4 separate regions of the Homo sapiens genome follow, and all the other regions are linked to region 3. The links are contacts of gene promoters, found by promoter capture Hi-C in blood cells and fetal thymus (Javierre and others, 2016). All regions are on one chromosome and are shown on one strand. Each heading gives the region's core, a stretch centred on a gene start or on the middle of the fragment in contact. The rest is flanking DNA. Distances are from core to core; before and after follow the strand shown.

Region 1 (3,125 bases), core at 275-2,774, 220 kb after region 3:
AAAAGAAGATAAATTATCATTTTTGGCCCCATAAAGAACTTTTACAAATCAATATCAAAATTATTCCCATCAGAATTGAAACATGGGCAATAAATATGTAAGAGATATCAATAAAAAATATAGTTCTTTCTTTAATAAATAGACATATGACAAATGACTCAATCATATTCCCATTGAGTAATGTATATGAAAATCACACTAACATCATCTTTCACCTATCAGTTTGGCAAAGATAAAATTATGAGAAATCAATATGGGAAACTAATAAAATGCTGGTGAAACTAATTTGACTAAAATTTTTATTGTAAGCAATTCAGTAATATCTTTCAAAATTACAAATGCATGTACCAATTGTATAGCAATTCTCCTTGTAGGAACCCACTCAGGTGATTTGATTATCTGTTGCTGCATAAGAAACTACTCCAAAACTCAGTGGCTTAAAACAACGTGTTTTTGTGTGTCAAGAATTTGGGCAGAGCACACTGGGTACAACTTGACTTCACTCCTTGCAGACTGGGCCTCAGTTGGAGTGGCTCAAATGGCTCTAGATGGGGTGGGGGACAGATCAATGAGGGCCACATGTGGGAGCCTCTCGTTGTCAACTGTGTCCCTAGCTTCTTCTCCACGTTGCACCTGCTGAGCCTAGAATATCCCAAATCGCTTCTACCCTCCTTCACCAAGGTAACAGACTCTTTTCCTGGTGGTTTTACTTTCCCAGGTTTATCATAGAATTGTAAAGTCAACAGAACTTAAAGGTACTATTGGTCAGCTTTATTCCCTGTTTGACTCATAATAGCCAGGAAAACAGATTGTGTGTGAGAAGCAGGTTCTCAGATGCTCAGAGATCTTTATAAAGCCCTGACTCACCCACAACTCTTTGCCTTCATGGCCTGCTGAGTCTTTTACAATGCCACCCCATTACATCTCACAGTAGAGGAATCCCTTGCTCCGAATGTCATACATCCCAAAAAAAGTTACATAGCAAAATTCCACAATAGGGGTTCTATATTTCATCATTTAAAGGGGAAAAGCTGCAGTACATTTCTAGCCCATCCAAAAACCCCAACAATTTCCTCCAGATATCACTAAAACACTTTTAAACAATCAAAGCAATATAATAAAAATCACCAATGATTTCTGCAAAATGTAAGGCCATTAAATGCCAATCAGCTAATTGTTTAGCTGATTATTTGCCAGTGATTTAACACTACACTCATATCTGTCTGCAGTAAGCAATGATATAAATGCAAACATTCTTTTCTACTACACTTCTACAAGCATTCAGAAAAATTGATTAAATACAAAAATAGGTTCATATAGATAACAAAATCAAATTTCACTCACAAATTTAAAAAAGGATTATTTACTAATTAGAATTGCCTAAATGAGGTTTAGAGGAGAGGAGAGGGAGACCGGAGTCCTCACGGTGGCTGTTCAGCGGGGTGAGTGTGTGGGATGAGCTGATAAAGGAGGAGGTGGAATTGTTCACTCCTGGGGTTTGTCCATATCCAGTTCCAAGGGACTGGGAACTGTCTTTATGGCATTTGACCCTCCAGAAGGAGATGACTGTGGCCTGTTGTCTGAAATCATAGTCAAAGCAATGTGATGGGAAAAACTCAAAATGGCCATGTCTTTGTGTTTCCTCTGCTTGAAAGCATACGGACCCCTGGGTAATAATGTAACACTGTGCTTGAGATTGCATCATATAGTGGAATGCTTCTGTTGATGACTTTTGTATGATTTTAAAGTTTCTTTTATTATTATTATTATACTTTAAATTCTGGGATACATGTGCACAACGTGCAGGTTTGTCACATAGGTATACACGTGCCATGCTGATTTGCTGCACCCATCAACCCGTCATCTACATTAGGTACTTCTCCTAATGCTATCCCTCCCCTAGCCCCCCACCCCGCAACAGGCCCCAGTGTGTGATGTTCCCCTCCCTGTGGCCATGTGTTCTCTTTGTTCAACTCCCACTTATGAGTGAGAACATGCGGGGTTTGGTTTTCTATTCCTGTGTCAGTTTGCTGAGAATGATTATTTCCAGCTTCATCAACATCCCTGTAAAGAGCATGAACTCATCCTTTTTATGGCTGTATAGTATTCCGTGGTGTATATGTGCTGCATTTTCTTTATCCAGTCTATTATTGATGGGCATTTGTGTTGGTTCCAAGTCTTTGCTATTGTGAACAATGCTGCAATAAACATGTGTGTGCATGTGTCTTTATAGTAGAAAGATTTATAATCCTTTGGGTATATACCCAGTAATGGGATTGCTGGGTCAAATGATATTTCTGGTTCTAGATCCTTGAGGAATCGCTACACTGTCTTCCACAATGATTGAACTAATTTACACTTGCACCAACAGTGTAAAAGCGTTCCTATTTCTCCACATCCTCTCCAGCATCTGTTGTTTCCTGACTTTTTAATGATCATCATTCTAACTGGCGTGAGATGGCATCTCATTGTGGCTTTGATTTGCATTTCTCTAATGACCAGTGATGATGAGCTTTTTTTCATGTTTGTTGGCTGCATAAATGTCTTATTTTGAGAAGTGTTTGTTCATATCCTTTGCCCACTTTTTGATGGGGTTGTTTTTTTCTTGTAAATTTGTTTAAGTTCTTTGTAGATTCTGGGTATTAGCCCTTTCTCAGATGGATAGATTGCAAAAATTTTTAAATTCAAAAATGTACTCAATTAATCTTTAAGATTATTCTGCAAGATTGACTCCTTCTTGCAACTCTGAGCATTGGTTTGAACTGAATTCTCTGGCAGTAAGTCCTTTGCTATGTAAGGCTCATAGCTCTTCACATTCTTCACTGTACATGTCACCAATTCAGACCTCTTCAAAAAGATCCAAAAAAAAAAAAGATCCAAGAAGGGTTTTTCTGTTGGTGATGTTGGTGTTGGTGTTGTTATTGTGTTGCTTTGCAGTCATCACTTCATGAAACTTTGGAAATCAGCAATAAATTGTCCCTTTCTCATAGAAGAACTTTCACTTAATAATGTGGAGAAAATGATTCCAACAATTAAAAACCAATTTAGACAACGTGGGAACAAGACAGGATCTTGTCAGGAAACAACTGAGATATGACTGCAGTTTACTTCACTTTCACCCTACA
Region 2 (3,241 bases), core at 711-3,210, 200 kb after region 3:
GTAGTTTCAGGTCTTAGGCTTAAGTTCTTACTCCATCTTGAGTTGATTTTTCTATAAGGTGAGAGATGAGGATCCAGTTTCATTCTCCTACACGTGGCTGCCAATTACCCCAGCAACATTTGTTGAAAAAGGTGTCCTTTCCCCCACTTTATGTTTTTGTTTGCTTTGTCAAAGATCAGTTGGCTATAAGTATTTGGGTTTATTTCTGGATTCTCTATTCTGTTCCATTGGTCTATGTGCCTATAAAACAGTATCACACTGTTTTATGGTTCGAAATTAGGTAGCGTGATGCATTCAGATTTGTTCTTTTTGCTTAGTCATGCTTTGGCTATGTGGGCTCCTTTTTGGTTCCTTATGAAGTTTAGAATTGTTTTTTCTAATCTTGTGAAGAATGATGGTGGTATTTTGATGGGGATTGCACTGACTTTGTAGATGGCTTTTGGCAGTATGGTCATTTTCACAATATTGATTCTACCCATCCATGAGCATGGGATGTGTTTCCATTAGTGTCACCTATGATTTCTTTAAGACGTGTTTTGTAGTTTTCCTTGTAGAGGTGTTTCAGCTCCTTGGTTAGGTATATTCCTAAGTATTTTATTTTATTTTATTTTATTTTATTTTATTTATTTTTTGCAGCTATTGTAAAAAATATTGAGTTCTTGATTTGATTCTCTGCTTGGTTGCTGTTGGTGTATAGAAGAGCTACTGATTTATGTACATTAATTTTATATCCAGAACTTTGCTGAATTCTTTTATCAGTTCTAGGAGATTTCTGGAGGAGTCCTTAGGGTATTCAAGGTAAACAATCATATCATCAGCAAATAGTGACAATTTTACTTTCTCTTTACTGATTGGATGCCCTTTATTTCTTTCTCTTGTCTGATTGCTCTGGCTAGGACTTCTAGTACTATGTTGAAGAGGAGCAGTGAGAGTGGGCATCCTTGTCTGGTTCTAGTTCTCAGGGAGAATGCTTTCAGCTTTTCCCTATTCAGTATTATGTTGGCTATGGGTTTGTCATAGATGGCTTTTATTACATTAAGGTATGGTCCTTTTATGCTGATTTTGATGAGAGTTTTAATCATAAAAGGATGCTGGATTTTGTCAAATGCTTTCTCCACATCTATTGAGATGATCATGTGATTTTTGTTTTTAATTCTGTTTATGTGGTATAACACATTTATTGACTTGCATATGTTAAACCATCCCTGTACCCCTGGTATGAAACCTACTCGATCATATTTTTTGATATGTTGGATTCAGTTAGCTAGTATTTTGTTAAGGATTTTAGCATCAATGTTCATCAAGGATATCAGTCTGTAGTTTTCTTTTTTGATTATGTCCTTTCCTGGTTTTGGTATTACTGTGATGCTGGCTTCATAAAATGAATTAGGGAGGGTTCCTTCTTCCTCTATCTTGTAGAACAGCATCAAAAGGATTGGTACCAATTCTTCTTTGAATGTGTGGTAGAATTCTACTGTGAATCTATCTGGTCCTGGACTTTTTTTTTTGTTGTGTGTTTGGGAGAGGAGGGTCTCCCTTTCCCACTTCTGCAGTTGGGGCACTCACAGTATTTGGGGTATCTCCCAGGTCCTGCAGGAGCAGACTGCTTCCTTTGGAGGGTCCTCTCAGGGTTGCTGGTTTGTTCTTGCAGTTGATCTGCCGCTAAAATTCACAATGTGAGCTTCCACAAGCTGCTCTGTCCAGAACTGCAATCTGGTCCTGCCTGCCATCTGCTATGATGATCTAATTGTCTCCCATTTAGGAAAGTTTTAAAATGATTTTTCTAGGCCAGGCGCGGTGGCTCATGCCTGTAATCCCAGCACTTTGGGAGGCTGAGGCGAGTGGATCACAAGGTCAGGAGTTTGAGACCAGCCTGACCAACGTAATGAAACCCCGTCTCTACTAAAAATACAAAAAAATTAGCTGGACGCCATGGCGGGTGCCTGTAATCCCAGCTACTTGGGAGGCTGAAGCAGGAGAATCGCTTGAACCTGGGAGGGGGAGGTTGCAGTGAGCCGAGATCATGCTACTGCACTCCAGCCCGGATGCCAGTGTGAGACTCCATCTCAAAAAAAAAAAATGATTTTTTCTGTCTCTCTCTCATCTTTGGCTTTTCAGTATGGGATAGAGGGAAAAGTCCACAGAGAAGTGCGGAGCCCTCCCCATGGACTCTCCAATCCAAGGCTTGCTCCCAGCTCACCTTCTGAGCAAAGTGTGGATCATTTCCTTTGCCCTCCCCTGACCTATTTATCACATGATGTCAATGAAAATGTACAATCATGGTTTGAGAGTAACCAAGGACAGGCTGTAGAGTGCATGGTTAAGAGTGAGTGTGGTAGAGTCACACTTCAACTCAAATATTTTTATCATTCTAAAATCAAATCTTCATAACAGTCAATTCAAAGAAGTCCAGCTTCTGCTCTCATTTCTATTCCCTCCCTCTGTACACAGGTAACTTTTTCCTTCCTTGTTACTCTTTCTTGCTTTCTTCTTTTATTTCTTCCTTTCTTCTACCTCTCTTTTTCTCTTTTTCTTCTTTCCCTTCCTTCTTTCTTTCCTTGCTTGTTTTCAAAGTATATCTTTCTATTGTCATCCTTATATTTATGTATCTATATGAAAATATATAACATATAAATATAATAAATATATATGCAAAAGTGTATCTTGTGCCCCTTACTAAACAAATGATAGTATCCCTTACATTATTTTATTCAACTCATAATTGAATAAAATACTTAGCAATATATCCTGGAGATGATTTTACAACTCTCTATAGAGATAGTCTTCACTACTTTTTACAATGAAGAAGTACTTCATTGCATAGATGTATCTAAGTTCATCCCGCCAGTCTCTTATTCATGGTAATTTGGATCAGTTTTTGTCTTTGCTTTTTTAAATAGTACTCTTCCAAGGAGATTTTTGCATAGTTCTTTCTATACTTTTGCCAGTGTATTTTTGGGCACATTCTTAAATTTGATAATGTGTGTCAAAGGGTAAATCCTTCTTTATTTACCCCCATAGGGCTGAACTCTTTTGCTTTCCCTTCAGCAGTGTCTGAGAGTTTCTGTCTTCCCTATACTTTTGTCAAGAAAGTAGGCTGTCAAACTTTAGGAGTTTTGCCAAATCTATACATGAGAAACATTCTCTGGAATCTACCCCTTTTCCAAGGACTTTTGGTTCTGGTTATTGGGTAATAAACAAAGATTTGGACACTTGATGTGCTCATTGCTAGAAGGTGTCA
Region 3 (3,207 bases), core at 419-2,918:
TTGCTGAAAGATCATTTTGCAAAATGGTCAACTCAGCAAATAATCGACTTGCTGAATCTTTGAGGAGTTATTTGCAGCTTCAGTTTTACTTAGAGCAATCCCTGGATGCTTAATATTTCATTTAAGAATGAGTGAGCCTTTTCTTCTCTATTTTGGGGAAACAGTTTCTTGCTGAGCCTCTGCCTCTGTTAGTACCCCAGCGGGGATGAACTGCAGTACCTGGCTTCGGGTTTTTGTCTTTTCATTATAATGAGTTGGTTTTATGTGCGTTGACCTACTGTAAAGGAAGGGTGGGGTTCTTCCAAAATAGATCCTCTTTCAATGAGGAGACAGGTAGAGTGGGACATGGGAAGGGCTTTGTCAGCTTTCCCCATCAAGATGTGTCCTGTGTGTCCCCAAAGCTCTTCTTGAGCCATCCCAGCATAACCAGGGTTTCCCTCAGGTTCATAACAAGGTAGAGCAGTCCTCAAGGCTGGCGCATGAAGACCAGTCCAGGGGGAGGGTGGATCCCTCGGGATGTGATAGGCTGACAGCAGCTCCCCAAAGCCTGTGGTTTTGACTACTGTAGAGACTTCATATCTGAAGCATGCCCCTCTACTTCAGCCACCCCCACTGCTCCTCCTTCTGCGGGGTCCCTTTGGAAAGCTTAGCACCACCTCAGACATTTGGAAAACTAACTTGAGCTCCAGTCCCTCGAGGCCCTAGCCTCTGCATCCTGTGAAGAGGGCCCTGCTGTGCAGAGCGCAGAGGGTCCCGCACTCACTTGGATGAACCTCTAGGGCATTCTGCTCAGTCTCAGGAGGGCAGACACTGTGGGACTCCACTCACATGAGTATCTGACGTTGCCAAAAATCATAGAAACAGGCCGGGTGTGGTGGCTCACACCTGTAATCCCAGCGCTTTGGGAGGCTGAGGCAGGTGGATCACTTGAGGTCAGGAGTTCAAGACCAGCCTGGCCAACATGGTGAAACCCCGTTTCTACTAAAAATACAAATATTAGCCGTGTGTGGTGGCGGGAACCTGTAATCCCAGCTACTCGGGAGGCTGGGGCAGGAGAATTGCTTGAACTCGGGAGGTGGAGGTTGCAGTGAGCCGAGATCACACCATTGCACTCCAGCCTGGGCGACAGAGCAAGACTCTGTCTCAAAAAAAAAAAAAAAATCATAGAAACGGAAAGTAGAACGGTGGTTACCCGGGCTGGGGTTCGGGGAGGTGAGTTGGGGTGTAATGGGGAGAGTTTGGGTGCTGCAGGATGAAAAGTCCTGCAGATCTGGCACACAACCATGTGAATGTACTTTCTACTGTGGGCTATACACTTAGAAATGGTTAGGATGGTACTATTAATGTTACATCATTTTTACCCTAGTAAACATTTTTTAAGAAGTCTTCCTCCGTGTTTGACTTCCTTATGAAGTAGAGACCAGGTAGTTTGGACACTATGTTCTTTCACAAAAGGGATTTCATTTTGTGAAATATTTGAAAGCATCGAAGTCTAGCATTTCACGTTTTGCAAGCTGGGGAAAAGCATTCATTCCCTGAGAAGCAGCGTTGGTCTGTCAGGCTTGGAGTTCCCCGGGTTGTGGGTTTTAGGGAAGGGAAGGGAAGCGAGGAAGGACTTGTGAGAGGAAGTCCTAAAGGCCACTTAAGGGCACACAGAGGCCCGGAGCTGGCTTTGCTCAGAGCTTGTAGCGGCGCCACAATCTCTGTCCTCTCAGGAACAGGAACTGGCTTGACGTCCTTTTCCTGCCCTATCCAAGCCCCTGTTCTTGCAGCCCTTCTGAAGCTCAGCCTGGCACCGGCCCCGGCGCCCCAGCCCCTGGCCAAGCCTCTGCTGTCATTTCTCCTCCCTCCTCTCAGTCTGCAGCTGCGGGACGGGCCGGGCTCCTCAGTTTCTGCTGTGTTGTGACCCCACGAGGCGCTCAGCACCCAGGGAAGGCGCGTGTGTCCCCGATGCTGGCTCCTCCCTGAGCCCCGACGGCTCTCGAGGTTCTGAGCCTGTGGCCTGCACAGGGAACTTCCTCTCCGACTGCATTTATGCCTCTGTGGATGTGAAGGCTATTTCTAGAAATCTCTTCCTTTGCAGAAACACCCGAAACCCTCCTGCCAGGAAGACCAGGGCCTGGGAAGAGGGTCGCTCTCCGGCCATTCTCCCCTCACCCTCCTCACCTTCCTCACATCCTGTGCCCTGGGGGACCAGCAGCTGCTTCCACCCAGGTGAGAGATGGAGGGATAGAGCCAGGTGGATTGCGGAGCCTCGGAGACTGTGGGACGCCGTGGGACCCCATGGGACACGACCGCAGTGCATGTGTGACATGTGCACTCGTGTGTAGATGTGTGTGCACTGGTGCATGGCTGTGGGGGAGGATGGGCTTGGCACCGGGAAGGCAGCCTGCTCAGCCATGGGAGAGGAGGCTGGGTTGAATGGCAGGGTTGAATGGCAGAGTTGAATGGCAGGGGCCCTGGGAAGCTTTCCTCCTGGTCCAAAGCGTGTCTCCCCAGCCTGCTGGGGAGTAGATTCGGCAGGATGGGGACAGAGGCATATTCCCAGACATCTATGAGAGTGGCTGTCCTAAAAGAAGGCGTGTCGGGGAGTGGGTGTGAGCCCTGAAGAGGAGGAGGGCTGAGACTGGCAGAAGGGAGGAAGAAGCAGGCGGAAGCAGCCGGTCAGATGCCCCATGAAGCTAGATGGTGCCGCAGAGCAGCCCCCAGGAGGAAGCCAGCGGAGCTCCTCCCGCAAAGCAGGGGGTGGGGGATGCTGATTTTTCCACGTCTGCTTTTCTGATCTTTCCTGCCCCTTGCACAGTTAGGATTCTGTGAACTGGGCATTGGAGGGATTGGAGGGGTCAAGACCTTACCAAAAGCAATATTTCTGATTTCACCTACATTTCAGCCAACCTGGTCCTCAGCAGTTAACCTCTTCCCTTCCTCTTGATGGTTGCCCTGCTGGGCTGGGTCTAAGGTCTTCCCCACGCTGGGCTCTGGAGGCATCTCCAACCACCCTGCTCTGTAAGTGGGAACTGCGATTAGATGTGGGATGAATCCCCGCATGGCTGGATGCTGTGCTCAGATGCCTGAGTCCACGTTTGCCTTGGGCTGTTTCCTGAGAAGGAGGCAGAGGCTGCCTTTACAGTCTTCAGTGAATTATAGGAAGAACGCTCTCTTTTTCTCTCAGTTGCTCTGCTGGGGTCTCCAGAGTGGCCTGGGAAA
Region 4 (3,137 bases), core at 135-2,634, 140 kb after region 3:
GTTTTAGACTAAGTGCAATGTGGTGCTGAGAAGAATGTATATTCTGTTGATTTGGGGTGGAGAGTTCTTTAGATGTCTACTGGGTCTGCTTTGTTCAGAGCTAAGTTCAAGTCCTGAATATTGTTGTTAATTATCTGTCACGTTGATCTGTCTAATATTGACAGTGAGGTGTTAATGCCTACCACTACTATTGTGTGGGAGTCTAAGTCTCTTCATAGGTCTCTAAGAACTTTATGAATTTGGGTGCTCCTGTATTGGGTGCATATATATTTAGGATAGTTAGCTCTTCTTGTTGCATTGATCTCTTTACCATTATATAATGCCCCTCTTTGTCTTTTTTGATCTTTGTTGGTTTAAAGTCTGTTTTTATCAGAGACTAGGATTACAACCCCTGCTTTTTTTCTCTCTCTATTTGCTTGGTAAATATTCCTCCATCCATTTATTTTGAGCCTATGTCTGTCTTTGCACCTAAGATGGGTCTCCTGAATACAGCAGCACACGTTGGGTCTTGACTCTACATCCAATTTGCCAGTCTGTGTCTTTTAATTGGGGGCATTTAGCCCATTTACATTTAAAGTTAATATTGTTATGTGAATTTGATCCTGTCATTATGATGCTAGCTGGCTATTTTGCCCATTAGTTGATGCTGTTTCTTCATAGTGTCAATGGTCTTTACAATTTGTTATGTTTTTGCAGCAGCTGGTACTGGTTGTTTCTTTCCATGTTTCATGCTTCCTTCAGGTGTTCTTGTAAGGCAGGCCTGATGGTGACAAAATCTCTCAGTATTTGCTTGTCTGTAAAGGATTTTATTTCTGTTTCACTTATGAAGCTTAGTTTGGCTGGATATAAAATTCTGGGTTGAAATTTCTTTTATTTCAGAATGTTGAATATTGACAACCCCCAACTCTCTTCTGCCTCGTATGGTTTCTGCAGAGAGATACACTGTTAATCTGATGAGCTTCCCTTTGTGGGTAACCTGATCTTTCTCTCTGGCTGCCCTTAACGTTTTTTTCCTTCATTTCAACTTTGTTGAATCTGACAATTATATGTCTTGGGGTTGCTCTTCTCGAGGAGTATCTTTGTGGTGGTTTCTGAATTTCTTGAATTAGAATGTTGGCCTGTCTTGCTAGGTTGGGGAAGTTCTCCTGGATAATATCCTGGAGAGTGTTTTTCAACTTGGGTCCATTTTCCCCATAACTTTCAGGTACACCAATCAAATGTCTTTTCACATAGTTCCATATTTCTTGGAGGCTTTGTTCCTTCCTTTTCATACTTTTTTTCTCTAATCTTTCCTTCATGCTTTATTTCATTAAGTTGATCTTCAGTCTCTGAAATCCTTTCTTCAGCTTGATCCATTTGGCTATTGATACTTGTGTATACTTCACAAAGTTCTCGTACTGTGTTTTTCAGCTTCATCAGGTCATTTATGTTCTTCTCTAAACTGATTATTCTGGTTAGCAATTTCTCTAACCTTTTTCAAGGTTCTTAGCTTTCTTGCATTGGGTTAGAACATGCTTCTTTAGCTCAGAGGTGTTTGTTATTACCCACCTTCTGAAGCCTACCTCTGTCGATTCTTCAAATTCATTCTCTGTCCAGTTTTGTTCCCTTGCTGGTGAAGAGTTGTGATCCTTTGGAGGAGAAGAGGCATTCTGGTTTTTGGAATTTTCAGCCTTCTTGCACTGGCTTTTCCTCATCTTCGTCAATTTATCTGCCTTTGGTCTTTCATGTTGGTGACCTTCAAATGGGGTACCTGTGTGGACGTCCTTTTTGTTGATGTTGATGCTATTCTTTTCTGTTTGTTAGTTTTCTTTCTAACAGTTAGGTCCCTTTTCTGCAGGTCTGCAGGAGTTTTTTGGAGATCCACCCCAGACCCTGTTTGCTTGGATATCACCAGCCGAGGCTGCAGAATAGCAAAGATTGCTGCCTGTTCCTTCCTCTGGAAGCTTTGTCTTAGAGGGACACCTGCCATGTGCCAGCTGGAGCTCTCCTGTATGAGGTGTTTGTTGACCCCTGCTGGGAGGTTTCTTCCAGTCAGGAGGCACCAGGATCAGGGACCTACTTGAGGAGGCAGTCTGTCCCTTAGCAGAGCTCAAGTGCTGTACTGGGAGATCCACTGCTCTCTTCAAAGCCAGCAGGCAGGAAAGTTTAAGTCTGCTGAAGCTGTGCCCACTGCTGCCCCTTTTCCCAGGTGCTCTGTCCCAGGAAGATGGGAGTTTTATCTATAAGCCCCTGACTGCGGCTGCTGCCTTTCTTTCAGAGATGCCCTGCCCAGAGAGGAGGAATCTAGAGAGGCAGTCTGGGTACAGGGGCTTTGCTGAGCTGCAGTGGGCTTTGCTCAGTTCAAACCTCTTGGGGACTTTGTGTACACCATGAGGAGAAAACCACCTACTCAACCCTCAGCAATGCTGGATACCACCCCTCCCCGCCCACCCCCCAAGCTCAAGCATCTCAGGTTGACTTCAGACTGCTGTGCTGGCAGTGAGAACTTCAAGCCAATGGGTCTTAGCTTGCTGGACTCCATGGGGGTGGGATCTGCTGAGCTAGACCACTTGGCTCCCTGGCTTCAGCCCCCTTTCTAGGGGAGTGAACAGTTCTGTCTTGCTGGCATTCCAGGCACCACGGGCGTATGAAAAAAAATCTCCTGCAGCTAGCTCGGTGTCTGCCCAAGTGGCTGCCCAGTTTTGTGATTGAAACCCAGGGCCCTGGTGATGTAGGCACCCAAGGAAATCTCCTGGTCTGTGGGTTGTGAAGATGGTGGGAAAAGCACAGTATCTGGGCTGGAATGCACCATCCCTCATGGCACAGTCTCTCACGGCTACCCTTGGTTAGGGGAGGGAGTTCCCTGACCCCTTGTGTTTCCTGGGTTAGGCAACACCTCACCCTGCTTCTGCTCATCCTCTGTGGGCTGCACCCACTGTCTAACCAATCCCAATGAGATCAGCCATGTACCTCAGTTGGAAATGCAGAAATCACCTGCCTTCTGTGTTGATCTTGCTGGGAGCTGCAGACTGGATCTGTTTTTATTTGGCCATCTTGAGAAGTTTGAGCAATATTTTATTCTTAATACTTTCTCCAAAACTTATCTCTAGGACATTTAGCCAGTTTCAAGCCTCTGTGTTATTTTGGAACCAGAGTCA

The links. Contacts are between HindIII fragments. The CHiCAGO score rates a contact against its expected background, and 5 or more counts as called.
Region 1: a contact is called between a fragment that was not itself captured here and the fragment with the promoter of GIMAP8 in region 3, in 13 of 17 cell types (non-activated CD4 T cells, activated CD4 T cells, total CD4 T cells and 10 more). The highest score is 32.5, in non-activated CD4 T cells.
Region 2: a contact is called between a fragment that was not itself captured here and the fragment with the promoter of GIMAP8 in region 3, in 8 of 17 cell types (non-activated CD4 T cells, activated CD4 T cells, total CD8 T cells and 5 more). The highest score is 12.8, in non-activated CD4 T cells.
Region 4: a fragment that was not itself captured here is called in contact with the fragment with the promoter of GIMAP8 in region 3 in 1 of 17 cell types (non-activated CD4 T cells); the score reaches 5.1 in non-activated CD4 T cells.

Annotation. Positions count from the first base shown.
Region 1 is chr7:150,670,295-150,673,419 of GRCh38, forward strand. The region is part of intron 2 of LOC124901774 (a long non-coding RNA gene); the gene reads right to left. Among named protein-coding and RNA genes, the nearest start is that of GIMAP2, 14 kb to the right of the region's middle. The HindIII fragment of the contact is 9,573 bases long and covers 1-3,125 here.
Region 2 is chr7:150,651,604-150,654,844 of GRCh38, forward strand. The region is part of intron 3 of LOC124901774 (a long non-coding RNA gene); the gene reads right to left. Among named protein-coding and RNA genes, the nearest start is that of GIMAP6, 21 kb to the left of the region's middle. The HindIII fragment of the contact is 6,469 bases long and covers 1-3,241 here.
Region 3 is chr7:150,448,962-150,452,168 of GRCh38, forward strand. GIMAP8 (GTPase, IMAP family member 8) reads left to right here and starts at 1,669. Exons shown (of 5, transcript NM_175571.4): 1 at 1,669-2,214. The HindIII fragment of the contact is 1,822 bases long and covers 644-2,465 here.
Region 4 is chr7:150,592,163-150,595,299 of GRCh38, forward strand. No RefSeq gene overlaps it. Among named protein-coding and RNA genes, the nearest start is that of GIMAP4, 26 kb to the left of the region's middle. The HindIII fragment of the contact is 1,114 bases long and covers 828-1,941 here.